4 separate regions of the Homo sapiens genome follow, and regions 1, 2 and 4 are each linked to region 3. The links are contacts of gene promoters, found by promoter capture Hi-C in blood cells and fetal thymus (Javierre and others, 2016). All regions are on one chromosome and are shown on one strand. Each heading gives the region's core, a stretch centred on a gene start or on the middle of the fragment in contact. The rest is flanking DNA. Distances are from core to core; before and after follow the strand shown. Region 1 holds the start of CD300LB (CD300 molecule like family member b). Region 2 overlaps CD300A (CD300a molecule). Region 3 holds the start of RPL38 (ribosomal protein L38). Region 4 has its middle 27 kb from the start of CD300A.

Region 1 (2,700 bases), core at 159-2,658, 330 kb after region 3:
CAGGGCAGCCGTCAGCTTGGAGCAGAGCCCCGTTGAACGGGCTGAAGGGTGGAAGTCCAGCCAGGACTGGAGTCGGGTCTCAGAACTCCCCAGCCATGCTCTTTCCTGTTGTCCCTCCGTGGACTGCTCTATCTGTGCCAGATGGTCAGTCCCTAGGCACCAGCAGAAAACTGTGTGGCCCACACACATTGCACACCCTGCGTAAAATTCTAGATTGTCCCCTAATGCCCTCTAGGTGTCCACCAAGGTTTGCCATGGAGAAGATCATCTAGCCCTTCCCACTTTCCACCTGGGTTCTTGAGAAGTTTTTTCTTTGAAAGTCTCAGCTCCTGAGCCTGGCGTGGATGGCCTTCATAATCTTGTCTTTTGTGTTTCCAACCTCATATCCAACTCGCCACCTCCAAGACATCCTGCACACTGACAGCTCCCTCTGCATGAATCCACCATTCTTTCTAAGCCTCCATCTCTCTGCCCAGGTCCCCCAACACACACACACACACACACACACACACACACACACACACACCCAACTCTCTAGAGTGTTCTCCTCTCAGCTCTGCTCCAGAGACTGACCTTCCTTCTACAAGGCACATCAAGTGCACAGCTTCGTGAGTCTTTCTCTAGTCACCAGAGAGAACTGCTTCATCCTCCGCACACGCCTCCACCAATGCCTTATTGTGTCCTGCAATTGCTCATTGTTTATGTGTATGTCTCACCCACTAAGCCATCTGGAGTCTTTTTACTTTATTTTTTTTTTGAGACAAGGTCCCACTGTATCACCCAGGCTGGAGTGCTGTGGTGCGATCATAACTCTGCAGAATTGAATACCTGAGCTCAAAGGATCCTCCAGCTTCAGCCTCCCAAGTAGCTGGGACTACAGGCACGGTCACCACGCCCAGCTAATTTTTGTTCATTTTATATAGAGACGAGGTCTCACCATGTTGCCCAAACTGGTCTTAAACGCCTGGACTCAAGCAATCCTCCCACCTTGGCCTCCCAAAGTGTTAGGATTATAGGTGTGAGCCATGGCCTCAAGCCTGGAGTCTTCTTTAATGGCCAGTTCTCCTCCTCTTTTTTCTTGATGTCCTCAGGCCCCGAAGCACACGATGTCAGTCCCCAGTGCACCTTTGTCGAATGACTTCACAAAGCCACCTCTCATTTCCCTGGATGTGGAAGGACAAATGCCCTCTGCCTCCTGCCCTGCCCCTGTCATACCAAGCGCCCAAGGCCCCAGCCCCACTCACCTGAGAGGCTGAGAAGGAGCAGAGCAGGGGGCAGCCACATGGCTCTGCCTTCCCGGCTCCTCGTCCGCCTGATCTGCAACCAGTGGCAAATGCAGATCCCAGATGCACTCTGGAAGTTCTGCCTGAGCTCTGGCTTGCACCTTCTGCACATCTAGACCGCCTTTGACTTTCTTACTCATTCACTTCCTTTTATAGAGTGGGTAGTTCCTGCTTTTAATTATTAAACGAAAGAGGTGTCATTTTTTGGCAGGGCTGCGCCACAGGGCTTAAGCATCGTCACTATGTAAAAAAGAGGAGGGAGGGGACTGTGCAGGGTCTTTAGGGTAGGGGGAGATACGTCTGCAGAAGGGGTGGGGTGGGGGGCGTCTGGCCTAGCAGGCCTTGGGTCCAAGGGGTATAACACTCTGGGAGTCAATTTCAGAGCTGTTCTATACCACAGTGAACACCCAACTCAGATGTCGGATGGGTCATGCTGGGCACACCTGAACATGCATTTGTTCAGGTGTTATAGCCAAGTGCATAAACATGCAGACTGTTGGGTCAGACAGACCTGGCTCTAACCCCACGAGCACCACCTACAAGCTGCGTGACTGTGGACAATGCAATCAACATCTCTGTGCCTCAGTTATTGTATCTATTAACTGGGCTCATAATGTTTGTTGTTGTTATAGGAGTTATTAAGAAATTATTTTAGGTAGATAGGAAAAGGGGTGCTTGGGAAGATTTTTTTTTCTTTTAAAGCAGCTCCATAAATGTTTCTTGTCTAGAAGAAAAGCCCTGGCTCTTAGAGCTGGGCAGGCAAGCTTTGATATGCAAATACAGGCCATTAGAAACTGCGTCCACCCAAACATGGAGACTCCCGCCTCTTCTTCTTTTCCCCACGTTCCTGGCAACATGGCCGCCCCTACATACACCCATGTGTGTAGAACATCATGGCGCCTGTATTTGCATATTAAAAGGCTAGGGTAGGAAGGCTAGTTTTTTCGTGGGCTACTTGAATGACATACCTGGTCAAACCAATCCCCTGGGCCCTATGCAAATCAGGTACCGCCTCCTCCAGCCTCCTCATATAACTGGCTGTTTTCCACCGTACTCGAGGTTCCCTCTTTCAGCTTGGAGCCCGCCTCCCTCAGTCTCAGAACAGGGGGAGCCTCTTCCTTCCTTCTTTCTTGTCTATTAAATTCTCCACTCCTTAAAACCACTCCACGTGTGCCCATGTTGTTTTATTCAAACCAGTGGGAGACCAAGGACCCTAGTGTTCCTCCAGTCATCAGAGCCATACCATTTTGTTGCATTGGCCGGGAATCCAAGGTACGACACTCATCGGAGTGGTAAGTATGGGAGTGAGCTTAAAATCTCTTCTATCATTCCGAGGCACTCTTAGCCTCTATTTTAAAATAAAATAAGTCAATGGGCATCCGTCAGCCGGGTACATACACTTAGTGTTGGCTGCCAT
Region 2 (2,700 bases), core at 201-2,700, 270 kb after region 3:
TTATCATAAGGATAAAGGATAAAGATTAGGACCAGCCAATGCAGAGACACATAGGACAAGGCTTGGGAGGATTCCCAAACAGTTTCTGTGCCCTCTCCAGGTGGAATCAGGGAGCATCACCTGCACCCTCCCTGCGGCACCTCAATATATTTATCAACCAGGAAGCTCCTCCAAGCTTTGGTGTCCAGAGTTTTTATTGGGGTTTCATTACATAGGCATGATGTGATTGAACTGTCTCCACCTCCAGTCCCTCTTTGGGAGGTTGGGCTGGCTCAGGGCTCCAAATCTCTAATTACGTAGTTGGTCTTTCTGGTGACCAGCCCCATCCTATTGTCTCATCTCTTACCAAAGTCCAGGTGTGATTCATGAACAACAAAGACACTCCTAATTTTTGGGACATTCCAAGGATTTAGAGCCTCCCTCCTAAGAGCTAGGGACAAAGGCCAGCCAGATTCTTTACTGGACAACATCCATAAACCCCTCCACAGGCTTCTGCCAACATATAAGACAAGGCAAAATTCAGGCTTGAACATGCCACTTCCAGAAGTTTAGCCTGTAGATACACATAGGTGGCAGCGCTGAGTTCTGTGGGGCCTGAAGGTTGTGCAGTTTGCGGGGTGGGTTGGTGGGTGGGTAATCTAAGAAAAAGATGAGAAAATTATGAATGCAAACGTAGGCATGAAGGAAAGGGCCCAAGCAATGGAGGGACCTGAAGCTGGGCTGCATCAGCCTCCTGGTCAATCTGCTGCTGCGTGGTCAGGTGTGAAAAGGTGGAGCTGCAAGGCGATTTATAAGCAACGTTTACCATTGCAAAGGACTGGGGAAATGCCCATTCAGTGGGAACATTTAAATAAATCACAGTCTATCCATGTGTTGGAATACCCTGCAGCTATAGGAAAGAGTGAGGGACTTCTTTATGTACTGACGTGGAAAGACCTCTAAGATGTATTGCTAAGTAAAACCAGAATAGTGTTAGACGAGGCCTCCTTTGTGTGAAAGAGAAAGGAGATCCCGTACATTCGTATTTGCTTGTATACACATAAAGAAACTCTGGAAGGTTCTTAAGAACAGCACGTGTGTGTATGTGGGGAAATTGGGGAATGTGTAAATGGGGGGTGTGTAGAAAGGGGGCTTTATACTGTCTATTTTTTTTAATTGACCTTATCTATCTACTTAAAAAGTTAGAGAAGGAGACCAGGTATATTGGCTCATGCCTGTCATCCCAGCATTTTGGGAGGCTGAGGCAGGAGGGTGGCTTGAGCTCAGGAGTCTGAGACCATCCTGGGCAATATAGCAAGATTGAGTCTCTACGAAAAATTTAAAAATTAGCCGTGGTGGCCTGTGCCTGTAGCTGGAGGCTGAGGCAGGAGGATCACTTGAGCCCAGGGGTTCAAGGCTGCAGTGAGCCATGATCACCACTGCACTCCAGCCTGGGTAACAGAGCCAGATCCTGTCTCAAAAAATAAAAATAAAAAATAAAAATAAAAAAGTAAGTTGGAGAAGGCAAGTTGGCCCCGCCCTTACCATCCTGTGCCTCCTCCAGGCTCCCGCTGCTCCTCTCCCTGCTGGCATTGTTGCTGCTTCTGTTGGTGGGGGCCTCCCTGCTAGCCTGGAGGATGTTTCAGAAATGGATCAAAGGTGAGTTGGCTCCCCACACCCCTCTGCCCCACCTGGGGTGGTCAGACCCTGACCACAGACGCTCATCTTCAAAGCTATGTCCACGTCCCACAGTATTGCTATGACATGTGACACCCAGACCACACATCCTAGGTGATCCTACAGGGCAGGTCCCATGGGAGGCATCCTTGTGCGTGGTGGTTACAGGCTGTGAGAGGTGGCTCCCAAGCAGGAGGCTTTCCCACTTCCAGGCCAAGGGTGGTTGCCCCATGAAGCAATGACCCTCTTCTGTTTAAAACCCTGGCATGGTGTGCTGGGTGCAGTGGTGTGCATCTGTAGTTCCAGCTACTCAGGAGGCTGAGATGGGAGGATTGCTTGATCCCAGGAATTCAAGACCAGCCTGCGCAACACAACAAGGCTCCCGTGTCTATAAGATAAAATAAACCCTTGCATGGTCTCCCCCACCATAAAAAGTCCAGGTATCTACAGGAGTCACTGCCCTCCACGATCTGGCTCTACCCACCTCCCTCTCCCCATCCGCGCACCCTGGAAACCAACTTCTTGTATCTCCTTTAATGACAGCCTCAACCTCAGCCTCTCCTCTCCTTCTGGGTTTGCTCTGGGCTGGAGGGCCTCCCCTGCCCCCTCTCCCCAGCTCACTCCCAGTGGACTCCAACAGTGGTCCTCAGACTTTCTTTTCTCTGGGACCTTTTCTTTGACTCCAAAGAGTGGCTTGGGGCCCCTCCTGGCTATACCTCTGCTGTCACAGCCTTTTGGGAACCAGACTGTCATTGCTGGTGTCCTCATCTGCCTTCCCACAGGCATGTGCTTCAAGGAGGTACAGAACCAATATTTGTCAAATTAATGTGTTATTCAGTATCTCCAGCTGCAACGGGCACCCCAGGGGCCTCCAGGCAATCTCTAGTCCAGCTGCCCTCCTCTGAGCTCAGATTAAAAGAGAGAACAGGAACTCTTGGCACTCAGTAAGTAGATGCTCAATAAATAGCTGATAGGCAAATTGAATAAGCACAGGAACAGAGGAACAAGTGGAGGTGTGGCCACCAGTCCTCTAGATTGCAGATC
Region 3 (2,700 bases), core at 102-2,601:
CGTTCAGCTTCTTTAAAAGACTCTTCAGTGTTATTACAATATTTTTGTGATCTCTCTGCAGCAAGGTCTATTGGTTCCTGTATCTCCAGCACCCCCAGGAAGGTGCTCAGCCTGAGCTTGTTAATGGAAGGGCAGGAGGGAGGAAGAAAGGAAGGTTAAGTTAAATAAGTTCTAAGTAAAGCTCATGGCAAAGTGTTCTTTCCCTTCAGGAGGGCCGCTCTGTAATAATAAGCACGAAGCAATTACATTCTGCCGTGTGGTTATTAAATTTTGGGGAAACAAATATAATAAAATGTAGACATTTGTAGGGAGGTTGGAGATAAAATAAAAATGGAGGATAAAAATAAAATCGATAACCGCAGGTTGCTCAGAGTCTAACCTAAAGGATGTTAGGGGGAGAAAGGAACGCTGCCCTCCCCAGGCTTCCCAAGCCTCCCCAGGAAGTGGCCGGAGCCTGGGCTGGGGAATCTGCCCAGCAGGGGTTCAACTCCTGAGTCCACCTCTCCCCTCTGGGGCCGCGGTGAGACCCCGCAAGAGCAGGAGCACTCCCACTCACCATCAGCCCTAGGGGTGAGACACTTAGCCAGGGGCAGCGCTGCGACAGCTTTTGGAAGTATTATTATTATTATCATTATTGCTAGAGATGGGGGGGGGGAGGTCTTACTAGGTTGCCCAGGCTGCTCTCGAACTCCTGGCCTCAAGCGATCCGCCTGCCTCGGCCTCCCCCAGTGCTGGGGTTATAAGCGTGAGCCACCGCGCCCGGCCTTAACTTGCTTTCATTGTACACCAATTCCTAAGGGAATTGGAAGCAGCAAGCAGGAACGCTCCCTCTTATGGAAAGAAGAGCCCAGGGCCCTGGTCATGACAGGTTCAGGTGCCAAAAAGGAGACGGGAAGAAAACGTGAGGCGCCAGAACAACAGGTTCTACAAGGTGCACACGAGGGTCCCTGCCATTGAATGAAGAATTTTCTGTGTGGATGCCCCTGCGCAGGTCCAATGAAAGCCGTGGAGAATAAGCGTTAGCTCTTCAAACTGAATCTGAGCTAAAACCTAGCAAAGCCAGGCTGGGGTCTGAGGGGTTGCGGGGGAAGACAGGAAGGGGTGGACGGGGAAGAGGCGGGGGTCCTAGGAGGAAGGGATGGGGAGGAGCGAGAGGAGGGAGGCGGAGGGAGGGCGGCAGCCAGGATGGTCCATTCCATTCTTGGAGCTGCACTGTTGACTTCGACCACAAGGGGGCAGGGCTGCTGAAATTGGAAGTGCGAACGCCTACATGAGTCTTGATCCTCGGCAGGCACCGTACCCAGTTTCCTCCGTTGGGAGGGTTTAACTGCCCGGAAACGGAAGTCTCGTTCTTTTTCGTCCTTTTCCCCGGTTGCTGCTTGCTGTGAGTGTCTCTAGGGTGATACGTGGGTGAGAAAGGTAATCTGGGGCAATCCACTGCCAGGTGAAATCTGGGGACCCCAGGTCCGCGTGGAGGGTGTCGGGGAGGAGAAGGGGAGTGCGATGGGGCCGATATTTCGGGGGAGAGCGGGAAAACGGGGTTCGCTGCCAGCCCCCGCGCCGTGTTAACGCCGAGGACTGTTTCCCGCAGGTCCTGGTCCGCGCCAGAGCCCAGCGCGCCTCGTCGCCATGGTGAGTACAGTCCCTGCCTGGCGCCTTCCCGGGGTGGGCTCGTGGGGCCCCGGGGCGAGGGCGAGAGAGCCTCCCAAGGATCTCCTGAGGCCGGGAGAAGCTGGTGGACTGGGCCATCGCCGGGAGACGTGTCTCTTTCCTCTCTGTTCACCCGCTTCCTTTGTGTTGCAGCCTCGGAAAATTGAGGAAATCAAGGACTTCCTGCTCACAGCCCGACGAAAGGATGCCAAATGTAAGTGGTTGCTCCGAAGGTTCAAGAAGAGCGGTGCCTAGCCTGGCACCGCTCCGGGAGCGTCTTCCCCGGAATGTCAGGCAGGAGACGGTTAGGCCGTCTGGGTGTGTGCCTGGCCCTCTGGGAGCAGTGGTTTCATCCTGTTTCCCATGAGAAAGACCTGTGGGGGGCACGTTGAGGCCCTGGAATTTCTAGGACCATCTTTAGCTAATCGCGATCATCTCAGAGGCCGCCCTGAGTTCAGTTTTCTTTCGTATAATATAGTAAATTGTCGGAACGGAATCTCCACTCCGCGAAAGCCTCAAAACACACGTCCCATAAACACTGTTTAGGTTCTCTGCAGTTGTGCAAAATCTTAACACAAAATCCATTTTGTAATAAAGTGCTGGATATTTGCATGTAATGTATCGAGCACGGCACACTGTGTAGTATGGTCGTTTACCTCGTGATCCTGTGGTCGCTGGCCAGTGTCAGAAGGTATCATACCTATCTAATCCAGAAAAATATTTAAAAAAATTTTTTTTTTTCTTTGAGACAGTCTGGCTCTGTCGCCCAGGCTGGATTGCAGTGGTGCGATCTTGGCTCACTGCAATTACCGCCTCCCAGGTTCAAGCGATCCCCCTGCCTCAAAGTAGCTGGGCGCGCCACCATGCCTAGCTGATTTTTGTGTTTTTGGTAGAGACAGAGTTTCACCATGTTGGCCAGGCTGGTCTCGAACTCCTAACCTCAGATGATCCACCTGCCTCCGCCTCCCAGAGTGCTGGGATTACAGGTGTGAGCCACTGTGCCCCGCCAAGATCAAAATTTGAAGCAGGGCTTCTACTGAATGTATATCG
Region 4 (2,700 bases), core at 161-2,660, 290 kb after region 3:
GAACAGCTTAACAATTACTGAGAAGAAAGAAAGAAGGAAAGAAAGACAGAGAGGAAGAAAGGAAGGTAATTCACATGCAGAGAGAACATTCCACTTTATTCTTTTTGTTTTTTTCAGGGAATGGGTGAGCTGAGGGGTTTATTCACACAACAGAATGCTTTGCAGCAGTGACAACAGATTGCCTTTTTTTATTTTATTTCATTTTATTTTATTTGAGACAGGGTCTTGCTCTGTCACCCAGGCTGGAGTCCAGTGGTGCAATCTTGGCTCACTACAATCTCTGCTTCCCAGGTTCAAGTGATTCTTCTGCCTCAGCCTCTCCAGTAACTGGGATTACAGGTACATGCCACCATGCCCGGCTAATTTTTTTGTACTTTTAGTAGAGACAGGGTTTCGCCATGTTGGCCAGGCTGGTCTCGAACTTCTGGCCTCAAGTGATCCTCTTGCCTCGATCTCCCAAAGTGCTGGGATTATAGGCATGAGCCACCATGCCTGGCCACCTTCTTTATTTTACAGAAGAGCCACGGGCCAGAGAGGCTACTTGAAATGACAAATGCCACTCCATTGGGTGATAATATCTGAACCTTGAATCTAGGAATTCTGGATCTTAGCATTAAAAACAACAACAATGAAAAAAAAAACCTTGTATTTTGAAACAATTTCAAACTTAAGGAAAAATTGTGGAAAAGGTACAAAGACCTCCCGTATGTCATTTTCCCAGATTTACCCTTTTTTTTTTTTAATTTGCCACTTTTTTGTTACTCTGTTTCTATCTATGCGTTTTTCCCCAGAACCATCTGAGAACAGGTTGCTGACACTGTCTTTGTCTGCATGTGCCGGGTACACAAAGGTGCCACTCCGGTGTTTTCTGAAAGTAGCTGGTGAAGCCTTCCCGTAGTTGTGCCTTGTCTTTGTTTTACAATCCAAGTTCACCTTCAAAATACAGCGCCTCACTTGGCATGTCCAATGCCAACATGATAGATATTCGGAGGATTAAATAATGTTAGGTTAATCATCAATATGTTCACAATTGGTCCAAGGAGGTGAAAGACATTTTCTAATTAGCCCAAGCCTTTTAGAAAGATGACTCAGGGCTGAATTATCCACAGTTTAGAAAATGACCTCACAATTATGTTTCTTTGTTTTTAAAGTTTACTGTTTGGGCAAACACCAGCCCTGGTTTGTAGACCTGACTCTGCCTGGGAACCAAACATAGAGATTTGATAGCCACGTATCTCCACCCTGTGGCCATGCGGGGAATCACACATGCCTGGATTCCCAAGCCTGTTGAATTCGTTGGGGTTGGTCTGTCAACGCCAAAGGAATTCTGTACTTTCTGGGTCAATGCAGCTGAGAAGCGGGAGGGCTTGAAACAGGGGAACAGACAGAAAACTCCTGCATGGCTTTCCAGCCCCTCTGCACGCCCAGTCCTTGGATGTTTTGTGCCGAAAGAAAACTCAACTCCTTGGCCGGGCACGGTGGCTCACGTCTGTTATCCCAGCATTTTGGGAGGCCAAGGCAGGCGGATCACTTGAGGTCAGGAGTTCAAGAGCAGCCTGGCCAACATGGCGAAACCCCGTCTCTACTAAAAATACAAAAATTAGCCGGGTGTGGTGGCGGACACCTGTAATCCCAGCTACTTGGGAGGCTGAGGCAGGAGAATCGCTTGAACCTGGGAGGCGGAGGTTGCAGTGAGCCAAGATCGCGCCATTGCACCCCAGCCTAGGTGACAGAGCAAGACTCTGTCTCAAAAAACAAACAAACAAACAAAACAAGAAAACTCAACTCCTCTCTAACTTTGAGTTTCTTTATTTCATATCCAATTGTCCCTTCCCAATTCCTAGATTTTCCCACCCCGACTGCAGTGTGTCAAAGGCAAGGGCAGCCACCCCACCTGTGGTTGGTGTCATGGGTTTGGGGTCAGATAGAACAGGCCTTAAATCCCACCTCTGCCCTTGTGACCTACATGGTCTGGGGCTGCCATTCAAGGCCATCTGGGTCTCAGTTTCTTCATTTGTTCCAGCAATGGTCCAGTGCCCCTCCAGTGCGTTCACCCTCACCAGGCTCTGAAGCAAGCTCTTATTTATTTATTTCTATTTTGAGAGGGAGTCTCAGTCACTGAGGTTGGAGTGCAGTGGTGCGATCTAGGCTCACTGCAACCTCTGCCTCCCGGGTTCAAATGATTCTCCTGCCTCAGCCTCCCAAGTAGCTGGGATTACAGGCACCTGCCACCACACCTGGCTAATTTTTGTATTTTAGTAAAGATGGGGTTTCGCCATGTTGCCCAGGCTGGTCTCAATCCCCTGACCTCAGGTGATTCACTCACCTGGGCCTCCCAAAGTGCTGGGATTACAGATGTAAGCCACCGCACCTGGCCACTCTTATTTATTTATACAGACAGGGTCTCACCATGTGGTCCCAGTTGGGCTTAACCTCCTGGTCTCAAGCAAATCTCCCTCCTCAGCCTCCTGACTGGCTGGGACCGCAGTGTGACCCACTACACCCAGCTGATGCAAGCCCTTAACAAAAGGCCCTGCCATTCTCTCCCTGGGCATCCTCATGCTGTTTCGTCACCTCTGGGACTCTTTCTAAGCACCCCTGACCTGCATCCTCATTGTCCAAAATTTCTTTGCTGTCGATTCTTTCCTTTGCTCCTGTTCTCGGGTCCTTTGAATTTGACCTTTGGACTCTCCCCTTTGA

What was found. Contacts are between HindIII fragments. The CHiCAGO score rates a contact against its expected background, and 5 or more counts as called.
Region 1: the fragment with the promoter of CD300LB here is called in contact with the fragment with the promoter of RPL38 in region 3 in 4 of 17 cell types (naive B cells, megakaryocytes, total B cells and 1 more); the score reaches 8.4 in naive B cells.
Region 2: a fragment that was not itself captured here is called in contact with the fragment with the promoter of RPL38 in region 3 in 1 of 17 cell types (total CD4 T cells); the score reaches 5.5 in total CD4 T cells.
Region 4: a contact is called between a fragment that was not itself captured here and the fragment with the promoter of RPL38 in region 3, in 3 of 17 cell types (total CD4 T cells, total CD8 T cells and naive CD4 T cells). The highest score is 7.9, in total CD4 T cells.

What each region holds. Positions count from the first base shown.
Region 1 is chr17:74,530,067-74,532,766 of GRCh38, forward strand. CD300LB (CD300 molecule like family member b) reads right to left here and starts at 1,409. Exons shown (of 4, transcript NM_174892.4): 1 at 1,245-1,409. The coding sequence starts at 1,284. LOC107985074 (a long non-coding RNA gene) reads left to right here. Exons shown (of 3, transcript XR_007065902.1): 2 at 2,481-2,575. The HindIII fragment of the contact is 3,995 bases long and covers 1-2,045 here.
Region 2 is chr17:74,475,893-74,478,592 of GRCh38, forward strand. CD300A (CD300a molecule) reads left to right here. Exons shown (of 7, transcript NM_007261.4): 4 at 1,544-1,638. Among named protein-coding and RNA genes, the nearest start is that of CD300A, 11 kb to the left of the region's middle. The HindIII fragment of the contact is 2,554 bases long and covers 174-2,700 here.
Region 3 is chr17:74,202,327-74,205,026 of GRCh38, forward strand. It overlaps RPL38 (ribosomal protein L38), which reads left to right and starts at 1,352. Exons shown (of 5, transcript NM_000999.4): 1 at 1,352-1,419; 2 at 1,592-1,632; 3 at 1,804-1,864. The coding sequence starts at 1,630. RefSeq lists enhancers at 588-1,091, 2,100-2,604, 2,605-2,700. The HindIII fragment of the contact is 15,941 bases long and covers 1-2,700 here.
Region 4 is chr17:74,492,287-74,494,986 of GRCh38, forward strand. No RefSeq gene overlaps it. Among named protein-coding and RNA genes, the nearest start is that of CD300A, 27 kb to the left of the region's middle. The HindIII fragment of the contact is 6,311 bases long and covers 1-2,700 here.